Linked DNA regions of Homo sapiens: region 2 is linked to region 1. Evidence: promoter capture Hi-C in 16 types of primary human blood cells and fetal thymus (Javierre and others, 2016). All regions are on one chromosome and are shown on one strand. The core of a region is centred on a gene start or on the middle of the fragment in contact, and the rest is flanking DNA. Distances in the headings are between cores, read along the strand shown. Region 1 holds the start of MINDY4 (MINDY lysine 48 deubiquitinase 4). Region 2 has its middle 71 kb from the start of ADCYAP1R1.

The links. The method cuts DNA at HindIII sites, captures the fragments that hold promoters and counts their contacts. A CHiCAGO score of 5 or more calls a contact.
Region 2: a contact is called between a fragment that was not itself captured here and the fragment with the promoter of MINDY4 in region 1, in 2 of 17 cell types (M2 macrophages and endothelial precursors). The highest score is 6.7, in M2 macrophages.

What each region holds. Positions count from the first base shown.
Region 1 is chr7:30,768,948-30,774,673 of GRCh38, forward strand. MINDY4 (MINDY lysine 48 deubiquitinase 4) reads left to right here and starts at 2,470. Exons shown (of 18, transcript NM_032222.3): 1 at 2,470-2,609. The coding sequence starts at 2,547. All of the region lies in intron 3 of INMT-MINDY4 (INMT-MINDY4 readthrough (NMD candidate)), which reads left to right. RefSeq lists silencers at 2,351-2,400, 2,461-2,510, 2,881-3,030 and an enhancer at 2,586-2,880. The HindIII fragment of the contact is 5,437 bases long and covers 1-3,164 here.
Region 2 is chr7:31,120,118-31,125,823 of GRCh38, forward strand. No RefSeq gene overlaps it. Among named protein-coding and RNA genes, the nearest start is that of ADCYAP1R1, 71 kb to the left of the region's middle. The HindIII fragment of the contact is 2,791 bases long and covers 391-3,181 here.

The DNA.
Region 1 (5,726 bases), core at 1,220-3,719:
CACGTGGTAAGGGCTCAACAAATATTTTTAAAGGAGTAAATGAATGGAGGAATGAATGATTTTTTCTCTTTTCACCTTCGTCTGCCTCCACGGGGGAAATCTCTCTTCTGACCTACTATATAACACCTACTATCTGTGATACACAACAGCAGTCCTCAACATTTTTGGCACCAGGGACCAGTTTCGTGGAAGACAGTTTTTGCATGGGAGGTGGGGGATGGTTTTGGGATGAAACCGTTCCACCTCAGATCATCAGGCATTAGAGTCTCATAAGGAGTGCGCAACCTAGGTCCCTCGCATGTGCAGTTCACAATAGGGTTTGTGATTCTATGAGAAGCTAATGCTGTGGCTGATTGGACAGGAGGTGGAGCTCAGGTGGTAATGTTCCTTTGCAGCTACTCACCTCCTGCTGTGTGACCTGGTTCCTAATAGGCCACAGACCCATACCGGTCCACAGCCCAGGGGGTTGGGGACCCCTGATACACAATCTCTTATGGAGCATAAATCTGTCTCATGTTATTCTTTCATTATTACACATCATCCATCAGTGTGTCTTCACAGCTGGAACATGAGGGCCCCTGGACCAAGCATCATACTGTCTCCTGCAACTCTGCCCTTCTCTCTCTACATATAAGAGCACATGGCTCTTTCTCACATAGCACAACATGTTCAAAAGAGGCTTCTCAAAGAACCATTGCACGTTGAGAGGGGAAATTGCCTGGAGATTATGGTGCAATCTGCCACATTAAAGCTACGTCCTATGGAGACTGTATAGGGTGAGATAGTTGCTTCCCAAGTGTGGTACATGTGCCAGTGGTGGTTGTAAGGTGATTTAGGTGAATGCATACCTTTCTGGTTTTGTGTTTGTTTTAATGTGTATTAGAGATTTAATAAGCACATAAAACCCAAGATCTTGTGGCTATTACTGCTTGGGAACACTTTCCTTTTAAAATAAATTGTAAAACATGTATGTGGATTTAAAGAAAATAATACATAAGTAACTGTATAGGGGTTAAGGGCTGAATTGTGTCTTTCAAAACTCCTGTGTTGGGCCGGGTGCGGTGGCTCACGCCTGTAATCCCAGCACTTTGGGAGGCCGAGGTGGGCGGACTGCCTGAGGTCAGGAGTTCAAGACCAGTCTGGCAACATGGTGAAACCCCGTCTCTACTAAAAGTACAAATATTAGCTGGGCACGGTGGTGGGCGCCTGAAATCCCAGCTACTCAGGAGGCTGAGGGAGGAGAATGGTTTGAATCCGGGAGGTGGTTGTTCACTTGGCAGTGAGCCGAGATTGCGCCACTGCATTCCAGCCCGGGCACCTGAGCGGGACTCTGTCTCAAAAAAAAAAAAAAAAAAAGAAAAAAAAATTCCCGTGTTGAAGTCCTAATGCCTGGTATTCCAGAATGTGACTGTGTTGGATAGGGTCTTTAAAGAGGTGATGAAGTGGAAATGCAGTCATTAGGGTGGACCCTATTCCAATACAACTGATGTCTTTATAAGAAGAGATTAGGACACAGGCACACACGGACGGCTAGCCACGTGAAGACACTGGGAGAAGGTGGCCATCTATAATAGAGGCCAGGGAGAGAGGCCTCAGGAGAAACCATCCAGCTGACACCTCGATCTTGGTCTGTAGCCCTCAGAACTGGGAGACAATAAATGTGTTGTTTAAGCCACATGGTCTGTGGTACTTTGTATGGCAGCCCAAGCAAAGGAATACAATAGGTAACATGCGGAAGTGGCAAAGATTGTGAAGGTGGAACCCAGGTGACTAAGTTCGGGGAAAATGTACTGGGCTTGGTTAGAAACCCAACTTTCCCAGTACCCAGCTGTGTGGGCCTCAGCAAAATCTTAGCCTTTCTGAATCTCAGTGTCCCGTTTTAAAGAATGGGGCCAACAGTAACTACCTAGCCAGGAAGTTGTAAGGATTAAAAGTGCAACCGTGAGTTAAGAGCTTGGTGATCAATAAATGGCAGTCTCATTACGGGAAAGCAGGCACCAAGGGGGCGAGGAACATCTCCTTTAATTTCGGTGCCCAAGAAGCAGAATGCTGGGCTTCCTTGCCCCCACCGTCAAGGCCCGCCAAGGTCAGTAGCGTTGGTGGCCCCAGAGGGGGCCGTGGTGCTGAGGGTGGACCTGAGGGGGTCACTTCCCTGTGAGTTTAGTCCTCCAGAAACAAGGAGGCAGGTATTCTTCCCATTTTATGTCTAGGAAAATGGAGCCTCGGAGCGGAGCGGTAATTTGTCCTAGGCCTCTCAGATGACCAGGGCCAGGGTCAGAGTGAGGCCCCGAGTCCGGAGCCGTGGACGGGGCCCTAGGCGACACCAGGGCGCCCTGACTGCGGCCTCCCACTCCGAGACGCGAGTTTGCGGGACGCTCCACCCCTTCCCTCCCGCCCCAGCCCGCCAGCCCCAGGGAAGGGGAGGAGTTCTTGCCGCGCCGACGCCGCCGTCGCCACGGCAACGCGGCCATACTGCGCCGGACAGACCCAGTTGCCTGGTGCTGCGGCCCGGCGTGGGCCTCGTGGGCAGAGCCAGAGCCAGAGCCATGGACAGCCTCTTCGTGGAGGAGGTGGCCGCCTCCTTGGTCAGGGAGTTCCTCAGCAGAAAGGTAACGGCTCGCCCCCTCCAAAGCCCAGGAAGTGGCTCTAATTTGGGGGGATCATCGGGGTCTCCCCTGAAGGCTTTGCAGCTTCTGGGAGGGCGCCCGTTCCCTACCTACTGCCTGCTCCAGAGATGCCCCAGAAGAGCGCCGCTTTCCCGGGACAGGGGAAACTACATTTCCCACGAGGCGTTTCTGCCGTCGTCACCGGGCGCTTCCGCAAGGCACGGTTTGGACCCCGTCCGCTGCCCTCCTGGGGCATCCGCGCTCCGGGGCGGCGGCAGCTGGGGAGGGGGCCTGGGGGCCGCGCCAAGCAATCCTAGCGCGGGCGCACAGCGGGCAGGCCTGCGCCCTAGCCTGGCTGCCGGCCTCCGTGCGCTACCCACGCAAGTCAGGGTCCCACTCGGAAAGAACTTCTCCCAGAGGGAACCCCAAAAGCCCAGAAAAGTTCTTGACGGTCAAACCCTTAGTCATTTTAGTCAACAGTGGGAATTCCAGTGGTTGCTTTAATTTTTGTAAGTTTTCCTATTGTCTTGTCCCAGGAGAGTTTTTGCAGTGTTCACAAGCTTGGAAGGTCCTTAGCTGTCATCTGGCCTCAGGGTGGAGATGGGGACCTCGGTGGGGAAGGAGCTCGCCGGGGGGTCTTGGGCGTGGTAGTGGAGGGGGACATACATTAGCTCATTCAGCACATGGTGACTGAGGGCTGCACTCTGTGTGTTTTGTCTGTCCTTGCAGTGTCATACTGGGCTAGGGCGATGGGTACTTGTCTTGTATGAAAACACATACACGTAATTTTTTGAATGGAGGAAAGGGGAAGGACTTTGAAGTCAGACGGAGACAATTCAAATATTTGCTACTAGTTTGCAGTGTGAACCTCAGTACTTTACTCACTGTCTCAATTTCGTTATCTGTAAAACAGGAAAGTAAGACCTACTCTTTGCAGATTTATAATGAGGATTAATATTAACATATGGGCAGCTTCCAAGCATTGGATCTGACATATAGATACAATGTGCACGTAGGTGTTCAACTTTATACCTCCTCCCACCCTCACTGTTTCTGACACCAAACAGGTGTCTCTGAAGTGCACCTGTTTGGAAAGTGTCTTTGTGTGTTTTTTATGATTTATTTTTATTTGAAAAAATTTTAAATGCGTTTGGCTTTGTCGCATCTGCCCTGTCTTTATGGCTAATTGACCTGCCATCACCTGTCCTGGCTGCATGTTGGATATCAATTGACACACCCTGGAAAGCTGACTGTTAACATCATTTCTTTTAAGTCTGGGTCACTGAAAAAAACTCTTAGAGAGGGCTTCCTCGTGTTCTTTCTTGAGTACAAATGAAATCCAGTGTCCTCACTGACATCCAAGCCTGCCCTGTAGCTTGACCCCAGCTTACCATCTCAATTTCATTTCTAGCCTCTCCCACATCCCTCCCCACCACCCCCCACTTGACATGGCCGAGTTCCCCTGGTCTCCTCTCCCTCGCATGTTTTATCTGGGCACACTAAGGCCCTAAGAGTAGAAAGGAGTTGCCCACAGTTACTCAGAAGGTCACAGTGAGCTGGGACTGCAGCCCAGGTATACTGCTTTCTCATCGCCTTCTGCTCTAGGGCAGAGACCACGTGCTCCCCACAGGGTTTTGCACAGGCAGTCATTGCACCCAGCAGTCGTAACCAAGAGAGCTGCCACCTTGGTGCCAGGTACCTAGAAGGTGCTGGTTTGTTGTCTCAGATCCTCGTAACAGTCCTGAAAGATAGGTATAAGTATTCCCTTTCACATAAGATTATTGTGAGACCAGGAGGCCAAGAAACTTGCCCAGGGTGAGCAGGTCAGACCATGTAATTCCCCTGCTCAAACCCCTCTACTGGCTTCCCATCATAATTAGACTTCAAGTCTCTCCATTACTTGGCTCTGGCTACCCTCAGACCTCATCTTCCATGACTGCTTGCTCCGCCCTCTACCCTTCAACCACTTTGGCCTACTTGAACTCACCAAGTGTGGTCTTCCCTCGGGGGAGTCATGATAGTCTCCTGGAGATGGCAGGGTCTGCTGAGGTGACTCTTCTGCTGCCCCAGCTTCTTGAGTCTGTGGCTCCACTCCTGCAGTGACTGTGCCATCCTCCCTCTGCCACCCTGCCCCATGGTCATGAGCTGGGCTTGTTGTTACCAGTACTGCGCCCTTTCTGTAATCTCAATTCCAAGCTTCCCACCTGTCAAAATTTCTAGCTTGTTTCCCATCATAGCCCCACGTAAACTCTTCTCCAGCCTCACCACATCTATATTGCATTGTTCCTGCCAACTTTTCACAGTCCCTCGGGCCTACCATAACCCACCTACCTCTCACCCACCCATCCTTATAATTGCACCCTCCATAACAGGTGCAGCTCTTTTGCGCTTCTCTCCTTTCATCATTCTCTTCTGACAGTAAAATTCCACTCGTCCTGCTCTACACTTGCGCCCATAGAGCTGAATGAGATTGGAGAGAAACACACACCACTATGTTGATGGTATCACTCTAAATCCATGGCCACTCACCCTTGTGGTGCCTTATGGGTGCCTGCCCACCTGGTTGCAACTCTCCAGACTGTTTACCCTCTGAGACCCTGGATGACCATTTCATACCTTCTCTCTCTTCAAACCCTGAAGCTCCTTCCCCATCTAATTTCACTGAGAAAACAGAAGTCTTGAGAGAAGTCCAGCAGGCTCCCACTACCACACTTACTCACCTTCCTGGGCTGCACCATTCACTCTGCTCTCTTTAGTGTTCTTGTGGATGAATTCTCCATACCCCTGGTTAGGCCCACCCCTCCATGTGTGCATGCCCTCTCTTGTGTGCTCAGGGATGTCGCTGTCTCCTGCACCATGCATTTCCCTCCTCTACTAGGTTACTCCTATCAGCACATGTTGTGCTCCTGCAGAATCCCATCTTGACCCCCAAACCCTAGCTACTGGTTTATTATTTCCTCCCTTTCTATAGAAACCCCATAAAGGACCTGTGTCTACTTTCATTTTAATTCTTTTCTCTGCTTTCTCGAACCCATTTTAATCAGACTTTTGTCCCCATCATTCCATGGAAATAGCTCTTCTTAGGGCCATTATTAACCTGGAATTTTTAGTCCTCGCCCT
Region 2 (5,706 bases), core at 536-3,035, 350 kb after region 1:
TACATACTTAAGCATGTGTAACTTTCTCCAAGATTTACATTTGCAGAATCTGTTATTGTTGTCTACTCTTTTAGACATACCTTATTTAAAATCCTAAATATAGTTCCTACAATTGTTTGTAGTTTGAGCTTATTGAGCTCTATCAATATACTTCTTTGCTTAAAATATTTGATTTCCAATCTTTCCTTCTTGTTGAAGTTAATCTTTTGAAGTAGTTCTGTGTAGGGGAGAGCACTCAGTCTTTATAAGATTGAGTTCAGAAAGTGGCTGTGTATTTTAGTTGGGCAGTTATTTTCTTTCAACACTTTTATACTGTGATTGCTACTGACATTTATTGTTTTTGAAGATAAAAATAGCCTGACACTTTTTTTCATTCTTTGGTTGCCTTTAAGCTTGGTCTTTATTATTGATGTACAGTTTCATTCTTACCCTGTTTGGCACATGTTATACTTTTGCCAGTCTGTTAATTCAAGTCTTTAGTTCTGGAAAATTCTTTACCAGAATATATTTGAACGATGCCAGTTGACAACAGAAATCCAGAGTGTGGATGTAGGAGGAAAGCCAGGGGAGTGTAGTGACAGGGAAGCCAAGAAAGGGTTTCTAGGAGAGGACAGTCATCTGGATCAAATGCTGCTAATGGTCTATGAAGAGTGGAATAGAAACCAGCAACTGGCTGAGAGGAAGGTGGCTGGGTCATCTCTTGCCCCAGGCTTGAGAGGGGAAGGCTTGAGGGCCTCCATCCTTGGCTTTGACTGGGCACCCCCAGGACTGTCTACAGCCCCATCCCTGTTTGGAACCTGACACTCAGCTTGGAGGAGAGGTCTGCATGCCCTGTAGCCTGTGTGAGACCCAGGCTGCACTGAGCCTCTTGGCAACACCAGGCCTGAGTTTGGGTCTGGCCCACAGGACAATGTTATAAAAAACAGAGTAGCTTTCCCCAGGAGGATCCGGGATTCATTCTGGCTCCCCAGGGCTTCTAGACCTAGAAGTCATCTGAAGTGGTGAGTCGGGGAGCTGGTTGGTCCTTTTGCAGTCCTCATTTATCTTTGCAGTTAGGGGCAGGCTTCACACCTTCAGGAACCAAGGGGCTACTCTCACCAAAGCCCAGACCTCATCCCAGCCTGCCCCATGGCTCCAGAGCTGGCTGAGAACCAGGCAGCGGAAATGACTGGGTGGGGAAGAGCTGGCAGCTGGCTCAGAGCTGGATAGCTTAGTTGGGAGTCTTCTGTTGCCCCTAGAATCCACTGGGACTGGCCCCAGGGTTGGTAGAAGCCATGGAGAGTTCTCCCATGAAAGCCCAATCCTCATCCTCATCCTCACTTCCTGGGAAAGGAGTAGGCAGGTTCCAGGCCTCACACTTAGGCCCTGGAAATGATGTAGTGGCAATGGAAAGGCCCCTCCCTGGGAAAGGGACCTGGCAGTTTGCAGTCCTTATTTGCTCCCAAGAAAGAATTTTGCTGGAAAGGAGTCCTCCCACCAGAGTGAAAGGGATACAGAGGAAAGGATTAGGTTGCGAAGGGCATGATTTATATCTTTGGGGGGAAATTTAAGGAAACACTGCTCTCTGTCGCCCACTCAAGCAATCAAAATATCAGACCCAGCCCTGGTCCTCAGAATGTCCCCATCTTCAGCTTTGACTGGCCCCCCAATGACTGGCTAGAGCCCCATCCCTGATTGGAACCACACACTCAGCTCTGAGGAGAGGTTTGCCTGCCCTGTGGCCTATGGGAGACCCAGGCTGCACTGAGCTTCTCAGCAACACCAGGCCTGAGATTGGGCCCAGCCCATGGGGCAGTGTGAAAGGAAAAGAAATCTCAGGATCAAATCAGTAGGCCAAAGAGAAAAGTGAAGTTGGGAACTGGGGGCAAACCTGTCTCTCATTTTATTGCTAAATGAGATAGCTACAAAGATTAAAAAAAAAAATCCTCCCTCCCTCCCTCGCTCACAATTTGCCCACTGGGAAATTCCTTCTGGGACCCAGTGTCTCAACCCTGAAACAGTTCTGTTGAATTTCACCCCGACAAAGTACACTGATAGCTTCTCTTCATAGGTACGGGACAAAGAACAGGACTCAAAGCCATCCCTCGGCTCCCCTGAGACAAATGCATATCTGATTGCTTCCTCTGCCCTATGTTTATTTTATCTTAGGTAAAAGTGCAGATCCACTGAGCTAGATGAATTCATAAGTGACTGTTCCTCTACCCCTTCTGGCATAGAGAAAAGCTGATCAAACTCAAAAGAATGCGACTGTTTGCCTCTTATGAACTCACACCTTTTAAAAATGTCTTCCTCTTCCCCCAGTAGCTACCCTTTCCCCTCTAAGTATTGAAGTCCTCAAAATCATCTTTGGAGAAAGGCACAGACCTGTCTCTCGGGCATGAATCCTTAACCTTGACAAAATAAACTTCTAAATTGAGACCTGTTGCAGGCACCTTTTGGTTTACAGTAGCAAACCTGGAAGCACAGAAAGGCAGATCCCAAGCAGAGGAACACTTACAGCGGGCCGTGACCCAACCACAGTCACTTAGCCTGAGTGGCGGGTGAGGCAGCAGACAACAGAATATGTCTGGAACTCAGAGCCACTCCTCCCCCAGCCAAGCTGCCCCTCAACAAGTTCCCCATCTTGGCTTCTTAGGGCAAAATTCAGCGTCTGGGTGTGCACTGCCCTCTTCTGGTCATTTGGTTGGTAACACGAGCAGCCAAGAGCTCCCCTTTGGAAATAGCAGGAGCTCTTTCCAGTTCCGATTTTTCTGCCAACCAGGCTTGTTTCCACACAATGACTCATAAGTGAGATAATGAAGGGCAAGAACAAGTTAAAATATTTACTATAATTTACATTTGGAGGAAAAACTTTAGTCTTACATTGCCTGTAGAAAGAATGTGTCCTACAGAGGATTTTGCAGTGGTTTAACCCTTTATATTTTTTTGATAAAGCACACATTTACTTTTTTTTTTCTGATCATACAGAAAACTTATTTATTGAGACCACATAAATATAAGAAGCATGGCTTTGGTGTCATTTAGAAAGTGAACATGTGTCTAAGAATTTTCACACTAGATTGTAAACACTAACATAACTGATCTATCCATCTTTGGATTTTCATTGAGATATTTACTAAGTCCATCATCCGATGCTTTTGAGGACATGAAAGTTAAAGAGATAAGAATCTTGATCTCAAGAAGCTTTATTATTTTTAAGAATGTTAATAAAGACTCTAAAAAGAAGGCAAACAGGGAAATGCATCCTCCCCAAAGCTGCTAGTGCCAGGACTAGGCGCCTTCCCCAGTCCAGCGGCTGCAGGTTGGGTTGCTAAGAGCTTACCCTGCCCTCTTCTGCAGACAATTGCTGGCAGATTTCTGAGGGGTAAGACTACCCCCTTCACCTTTCTCATCCAGGGTGGCCGGTAGCCAGTGACTGAGGGATGTAGGGGTAACCGCCCAGCCGCCTTGCCTCTGGTTGGGACCACCTCTGTGGTTGACATCAGTGGCTCCTGCTGGATCAGCATGAGGCTGATTCTGCTGAGGTCTGGCTCCTTCCTCCACCCATCCCCGCTTCCTCACTGCCCTTCAGTGTCTCCCCATGCACTCCTTCTGTAAGATCCCTGCTCAAGGATCTCTACTTCAGGCTCTACTGCTACAGAATCTAGACAAAAACATGTGCCATCAACAAGGCCCAGAAAAGATAAGGTCCAGTTTCAGGATTAGGGAAAACTTGCCTTGAAGGTCAGGTTAGATCTAGGCATGGAAGAACTGTTCATCTAGCCTACTGACACTTATTGACTGAGTGCCTTCAATGAGCTGGGCACTCTTCCAGGCCTTGGGGCATAGCAGCAGATATGACAATCTTGTTATCGCTGGCACAATAATTCTAGCAGAGAGGGAAAGAAACAGGAAACAAATAATGGAGAATAAGATGAATTCAGTTAAGTTCTTTTTTTTTTTTTTTGGAGACGGGGTCTTACTCTGTCTCCCAGGCTGAAGTGCAGGGACTGGACCACAGCTCACTGCAGCCTTGACCTCCTGGGCTCAATTGATCCTCCCACCACCTCCTGGGTAGCTGGGATACAGGTGTGCACCACACCACACCTGGCTAATTTTTTTGTTTTTTTTTTTTTTTTTTTTTTAGAAATGGGGTTTCTCCATATTGCCTAGCCTGGTCTTGAACTCCTGGGCTCAAGCGATCCACCCACCTCAGCCTACCAAAGTGCTGGGATCACAGATGTGGCCACCGTACCTAGACAACTTATGTTCAATAGTGAAAATAAAATATGGCAACCAGATACTGTCACCAGATCCATTTTCCTACAATTCTCCAAAAATTTACCCTTGAGAAATTAGGTGATTCATTTATCTAGTTATAACAATTGGAACCTTTCTCCTGTCATAATTCTTCATCTCTGATGGTACTGGCTCAGTCAACGTCAACTTCCATTGAGTTCCTGCTGAGGATACTCACTTTAAATCATGGCATTGACACCAAACTTATTCTATAGTCTGTATTTGGGGTCTGGCACAGTGGCTCACACCTGTAATCTCAGCACTTTGGGAGGCCCCAGCAGGAGGAGCCCTTGAGCTCAGGAGTTTGAGACCAACTTGGGCAACATAGTGAGACTTCGTCTTTACTAAAAATAAAAAAAAAAATTAGACAGGGGTGGTGGTGCATGCCTGTGGTCCCAGCTACTTGGGAGGCTGAGGTGGGAGGATCACTTGAACCTGGGAGACGGAGGCTGCAGTGAGCTGAGATCGCACCACTGCACTCCAGCCTAAGTGACAGAGTAAGAGTCTGTCTCAAAAACAAAACAAAATGAAACAAAGCAAAGCAAAATAAAACAAAAAACAAAACCCAAAATAAACCAAAGTCTGTAGTTGGGATCTTGAAACATTCTCTGGGCTTTCCATGTAACATTACAAGCACTGAAGCATGTTGTTTGGGTTCTGGACTCACCGCAGAGAGGCAGCCTTCTAAAGCAGCGGTTCCCAATCTTTTTGGCATCAGGGACTGGTTTCATGGAAGACAATTTTTCCAGGGACTGGGTGGCAGGAGGATGGTTTTGGGATGAAACTGTTCCACCTCAGATCATCAGGCATTAGATTCTTGTAAGGAGAATGCACCTAGATCCCTCCCTGTGCAGTTTACAATAGGCTTGAGCTCCTGTGAGAATCAAATGCAACTGCTGATCTGACAAGAAGCGGAGCTCAGGCGGTAATGCTTGCTCATCTGCCACTCCCTCCTGCTGCGCAGCCCAGGTCCTCTGGTCTAAAGGAAGGCAGCCAATACCTGTGACTACCCAAGAGATGCCCCTGGGACAAAGGAACTGTGCCTTTGAGAGAGCCCAGGGTTGACGCATCCTGCATAGCTGCTCTCTTGATTCCATTCTCCATGCCAATGTCCTGCAGCCACACTGTCCTTTGATCCCATAAGCCTTCCTAAGGCCTACAGCCTCAGGAGAGAAAATGTCCTTTTTTTTTTGACCTATAAGCCTGGTGGCAGGCATGTATTTTATTCATCTTCCTATGCCTCATGGGCACAGCAAAATCCCATTACACAGGAGTTAACCAGTGAAGTTGGTGGAAATAAGTGAACTTCAGGGTCCTCCATAATGCCCACTTGCCCTTTTCCTTCTTAGGATCCCAATAGCCAGGCCAGAATCCTGTCTCTATTAAACAAGCCTCTAGCTTTCCAGCCAGTGTGCCTTGGCTCAGCCT